Linked DNA regions of Homo sapiens: region 1 is linked to region 2. The links are contacts of gene promoters, found by promoter capture Hi-C in human tissues and cell types (Jung and others, 2019). All regions are on one chromosome and are shown on one strand. The core of a region is centred on a gene start or on the middle of the fragment in contact, and the rest is flanking DNA. Distances in the headings are between cores, read along the strand shown.

Region 1 (2,814 bases), core at 263-2,762, 75 kb before region 2:
ACCTCCTGGGTCAGTTCTTGCACAAATTTCTTCTTGAGTTCTAATTTAGTTATTTTTTTCTTTCCCTTTTTGATTTTCTTTCTTCTCACCATTAACTTGCTGTGAGACAACACAAGTTACTTAACTTTCCTGGGCCTTATTTCCCTTAAATTAAAAAAAATGAAACGGTTCTTTCATGAAGGTCTTTTTCTACGCTCAAATTTAAAAAAAAATTACACTTGCATTTCCTACTGTTATTTTTTCCTCCCTCATTCTCCTTTTCCTCCCTTTTTCTTCTTGTTTATTGTAAGATTACTTTATTATAACATGTCATTAACATTGTAAAAAGCACTCTCTCATAATTTATATCATAGAGATAGGTCAGGGATTATTATTGTCCACATTTTGTAGATGAAGACACCAAAGCTCCAAAAGGTTTTATGGAAAGTGAAAAACATTGTTGCTTTCCTTATTTATTTAAATGTAGTCTAGTCTTCTTATGGAGCATGGAAGCCATGTAATAGCAGTGCTACTTAAATAATTGGAGTAGAATGAACTTGAACATGATAATTCTTGTGATTTAAAAGAAAACATTTCATCAGACTACTTAGTAAATTCATGCTGGCTCCTAGAAATTGCCGCTTTATTTTCTAACTTTTACAAAGCACACGAGAGTGAGAGGGCATACAGTCTATAAATGTTAAATTAATTTCTTCTAGAAATTTGATGAGGGCTATCAGGCTTAATGGTAATAGTTTTCCCTCTTTTTCCATTCTAAAAATCTGGATGATATTTGCCTATTTCCAGTTTTCTGGTACTGTTTTCCTTCTCTGTGATTTTCCAATATTGATTTCAGCAGTTCTGTGACTATTTCTGAATTTTCCCACTCTTTGGAGTTGTAATTTACCTGAACAATTAACTGCTGTTAAACTATCATTTAAATGTAAAATTTCTGAAAAGTCTTTTATTCTTTTATAAAGTATCAAAATATTCTCATTTGGAAAAATATTGTCCTAAATAAAGTTAGCCAAAACTATGATAATATAATTAGTGACTCTCAAAAGATACATAAGTGATGAAACCAGTATAATAGTCTATTAAAATTGATATTCATGATTCAATTCAATTAATTAATTTGCTTTTGTTGCTTTTAGGGCCAACTACATTTATAGGTTTGGCTTTGGTTTATCAATACAGGAGCCAAGTATCTGAGTCATATCAAGAATTAGAAATATGATGAAACTTATAGTAAGATGTAATTTGCCTCAACTTGCAGTAATGCATGACAGCAGCAATTGACTGAGCCCACCATGGTAGGTTTTCTTTTACAAGGTGCCCCTGCTGGTCAGATGGGACCAGATACGTAAGAGCTTAACCTTCTTGTGTTCATCTTTGGTAAGATTTGCAGAAGCCAATTTAGTGCCTTGGATATAAGAATCATGACATTTCATCAACTAATTTTCTCCCCATTTGAGAAAAAATATCTTTCCTAATACTCCTTGAAAAATTGCAATTTTCAAAAACTGTATCTACCCCCTTCCATTGTTCTAGCCAATGCCTCAAGTGATGCCGTCATTGTGTTAAGCATATCCAATTTGTCAAATCCAGCCAAAAAGCTTTCTTTCTTAAACTGTGTATTCATGAGCTGTGCATTTTGCTTTCATTATTTGATATAATAAAAACATTCAGATTTCAAGGTTCATGGGCTAAGAATTGTTAAGGACTAAGACCACTGGACTGAGTAAATGAACTCTTTCAAGTCAATAAGGAGATACTTTAATGTGCATAGGGCCCTGTGGTTTCTTTTTTTCTTTCTTTTTTTTTTTTTGAGAGGGAGTCTTGCTCTTTCGCCCAGGCTGGAGTGCAGTGGCGCGATCTGGGCTCACTGCAAGCTCCGCCTTCCGGGTTCAAGCCATTCTCCTGCCTCAGCCTCCTGAGTAGCTGGGACTACAGGCGCCCGCCACCACGCCCGGCTAATTTTTTATGTTTTTAGTAGATACGGGGTTTCACTGTGTTAGCCAGGATGGTCTCGATCTCCTGACCTCGTGATCCACCTGCCTCGGCCTCCCAAAGTGCTGGGATTACAGGCGTGAGCCACCGTGCCCTGCCCCTGTGGTTTCTTTAACCAGACTAAGGAAGTTCAATTTTAATTCCTTTATGGAATCTTCCTTAACCATCTCGGTTAACAGCTCTCCTATAAGATACATTCTATACAATGTAGCCTATAATGGTTGATTTTCTACCCTCTACCCTTTCTTTTAAAGGTGTTATTTTTGTTTGTTTGTTTGTTTTTGTTGTTGTTGTTGTTTTTTAAGATCCTGGGCTTAAGTGATCCATCCTCCCAACTCAGCCTCTCTGGTAGCTGGGACTACAGGTACGCACCACTCTGCCTAGCTCATTTGGTACCCTTTTATAAGTAGTCTGATTATAGACTCCTAAGCTCAAGAGTCTTATTGCATGCACAGAGTATGGAGCTCAACTGATATTTATTGATCGTTTGATCTTGTTTCCAAAGGCAGCTGGCCATACTGCCTCAGTTGCTTCAGATCTGGCATAACTATTCCAAGATAGCTAGTCACAAAACCAGACTAGAAACAGCTGAGGAATATTCCTTCTTTGTTACATATCAAACTTAAATTCAGCAATTTCTTAGAGCACTTTCAATATGCCACATATAGTGCTTTTGGACATATAAATAGTAGCTACCATTTATCAAACAGTCCATAAATGCTAGGGCACAATATTCAGTACTTTATGGGCATGATGCTATTTGTTTATAACAATCACATTAAACAATTGGCATCATCTCCATTTACAGATGGCAGAATGGGCCAA
Region 2 (2,997 bases), core at 235-2,734:
AGTCGCCTTGGTCTCCGAGAATAGGGTTCCTCCTGGGTCACCGCGTTCACCCAACTACCTGTTACCTTCGGGCCTGGGTTTTCCACAGAAAAAATTACGCAATGAGCCGCCGCCTCAGGGCTTTGGAAGTTGCAGTGGGGAGAGAAGGGGTGGGAGAATCCCCCAGGGATGATAGAGAGCTTCAGGTCTCCCTTTGGGTGTCGGTGCCGCTGTTTACCAGCCCAACAGCCTTCAGCCCACTTCCCCTTTCCTCCCCGGGGGAAGAGATGGTTAAAGATTACACAGCGGCCGCGGGCACTTCAAAGGGCGGCGCGGGCAGCCAAAGGTAAAGATAACGTTCTGGCAGCTCTAATCGGGGTTTGTGGTTGCCACATTTTAATCACGCCGTTAAAAAAGAAAGAAAATAAAAAGAAAGGAGGGAGGGAAGGAAGGAAGAAGGGAGGAAGGAAGGGAGGAAAAGAGGAAAAAACCCCAAAAAGGTTACATCACGTCACAGTGCAAGGGATGCAGACTAAAAACCCTTTGGAGCTGGGCAAGTTGTTTCTCCTTTGGGGAAACTTTCTACAGACCATCTTTTCGTGGAATGCGACTAGACGCAGAGAGGCGGTTGGGGCGGGGACCAGATGGCAGCCTGCCTTTGGGTACCAGGCTCTGGGTCACAAATGTCCACTCCGCACGCAAATGCCTGCATTTGCAGGAATTCGCCCTGCGATGTTTCTAGCGCTGGACTGGGAAGCTGCGGCGCAGCAGCGCTTTCCCGGGTTGCACTCGAAGCCATTTCTCTGCGGGTCCAGAAAGTGCCGGCACGCTACTCCCCGAGACACGTGCATTTCTCTGGGGGCCCTAACAGGCCTGGCCAGGATGCCCTTGACAAACTCGCCCCCCTCCCCCACGAGCAGGCGGGCGCCGAGGAGCCTCCAGCCTCGCCTTGGACGAACCTTCCTTCCCCTCTTAGTCTCTCTCCCGGAGTGACGTGGGGAAGTACTTACAGGTAGGAGGTGAAGACGCTGAGGTTGGAAGGCAGCTCCGAGAGCCCCAGGTCGGAGCAGTCCACCCTGAGCAACATCCTGCCGTCGGGCTCGCAATGACAGTGTGTGGGGCAGCCCCTCAGCAACACACCAGACCTGGGAGAGCTGCCCCCGGTCGCCAGCTGCAGCAGCACAGGCAAGGACAGGAGCACACCGAGCCGGGAGGTGTCCATGGTGCCCGAAGTAGGGGGCCACGAGCCGGACGCGGGCGGAGAGCAGCACCGGACTGCTACGGGCCGTGGCGCGCCGGGCGCCGCTCCGTGGGCTTCTGCAACTCAGCGGGCGTCTGCAGCGCCAGACGCCGCGTTCCTGACCCCACGGCGTGGGCGGCGAGGAGAAGCGCGGCGGGGACAGAGGTGCCGGTTGCCGCCACGCCGGCCTTCGGAGCAGCCCTGGCTGCAGCGGCGACAGTGGCGGTGCGCCTTGCTGCTGCTCGCGGCCTGAGCGGTGTGGAGCAGCATCTCTGCTTGCACGCTCGTTTTTTAAAGCGCTCCAGCCCGAATTGCGCGCCCAGTGACGTCAGCGCAGCCTGGCTTCCCAGGCACCCCCCGCCCGGCCCCACTTTCCCTCCACTTGTCCCCTCCCTCCTTTCCCAAGTCCTGGGCTGGGAGGCAGCAGGCAGCAGGCAGCGCGCGGTACTGGCGAGTTCTCGGCGCTCCCACTGAGCCTCCGCCTGGAAGATTCAGTGCTCAACGCCGCGCGCCGGAATAGGGGACCCCCCCACCCTTACCCCTTCATGCGTGCTGGAGACCCAGATCTAAGAGTCGAGAGGGACCTGCTTCGGAGAGACCTAAACAGACGCACAAGGACTGGAGGATGCGGCACGTTTCCTCCGAGCCCGCTTCAAATAATGGATGAGATACTTGAAGTGATTAAACAGAATAAAACAAAACAAAAACACAAAAACTAAAATCCTATGCAGAGAAATAGTTACGTTATCAGGGTAAGGAGGCAGGCGTCCCCGGCGAATGATAGGTGGCCTTTTTGATCCTTACGTCTGCCGCACTGTCTGGCTCGCTTTTGCCCTAAAATCAAAGCTCTAGGCTAATCGCTAAACAAATACAGCTCCTGAGCGAGCACTCCACTGCTGCCTTCCTATCTCTTGCGGGGTGAGGAAGTCGAAGTGACTCATTTGTTTTTTAAAAGTGGTTTAGAATACCCTAGAAGTCACTTTTAGTAAATCGATGCCAGAGTGACAGATGGCTGTTTGCTAACTTCCAGGGACTTTTCATCTTAAGTGTCCCAGCGCTCTCTGAACTGAGAGCAGTCCCACCTATGTGAGTGACACTGGGCTCTGAGAACCGCTGCAGAGCGCCAGGGGGAAAATGCATGCTCTTGCTTCAAAAAGTGTCCTATAGTGAATCTGCAGGAAAAAGGAGGAAAAGGATTCAGGGCTTTCTTGGAGAGAAGCCCTCGTTGAGGTACAAATAGCCCTCGCCAGACCTGAGTGAGCTGCTGAAAGAGGTGGTATTCCAAGCCTGCCACACCAACTCACAAAAATGCAGTTTTCACTCTGGGGCACAATGCCTCACAGCATCATGAAGGCAGGATACCCTGTTGATTTTCCAAGTCCTTTTTAATCTTCCTGCATTTAGACTGCCCAACAAAATTTCCCAAATAAACGTCTAAATTTTAGAGTTGGGAAGAGCTGTTTCTCTGTGCAGTGTATGTGCCTTCCTTCATGTCCAAACCTCGCTGTTTGTTCACCTAAAATATATAATTTCTTGACCACAATCTGTAGTCTGAACATCTTCCTTTCTTGGGTGAAAAAACAAACAACAAACAAAGCACTTGACAGTGCTAGTGCCACTGAAAATTGTGAGTTAACTCCGGTTTCCGCACAATCAGTACAGAGAGCCCGCGTCTCTGGACACCCTTTTCCTTCACTTTTCCCTATGTATACCACATTCACTGCTACTCTGTGCTTATTCTCACATTATTCTTGCTTCCCTTAGCCATTCTTTCCACA

What was found. The method cuts DNA at HindIII sites, captures the fragments that hold promoters and counts their contacts. A contact is called where the count stands out against the background at its distance.
Region 1: a fragment that was not itself captured here is called in contact with the fragment with the promoter of LGR5 in region 2 in 5 of the 25 tissues and cell types used here (bladder, liver, mesenchymal stem cells and 2 more).

What each region holds. Positions count from the first base shown.
Region 1 is chr12:71,513,561-71,516,374 of GRCh38, reverse strand. All of the region lies in intron 2 of LGR5 (leucine rich repeat containing G protein-coupled receptor 5), which reads right to left. Among named protein-coding and RNA genes, the nearest start is that of LGR5, 75 kb to the right of the region's middle. The HindIII fragment of the contact is 4,830 bases long and covers 1-2,814 here.
Region 2 is chr12:71,438,285-71,441,281 of GRCh38, reverse strand. It overlaps LGR5 (leucine rich repeat containing G protein-coupled receptor 5), which reads right to left and starts at 1,484. Exons shown (of 18, transcript NM_003667.4): 1 at 990-1,484. The coding sequence starts at 1,201. The region is part of intron 2 of LOC124902962 (a long non-coding RNA gene); the gene reads left to right. The HindIII fragment of the contact is 8,401 bases long and covers 1-2,997 here.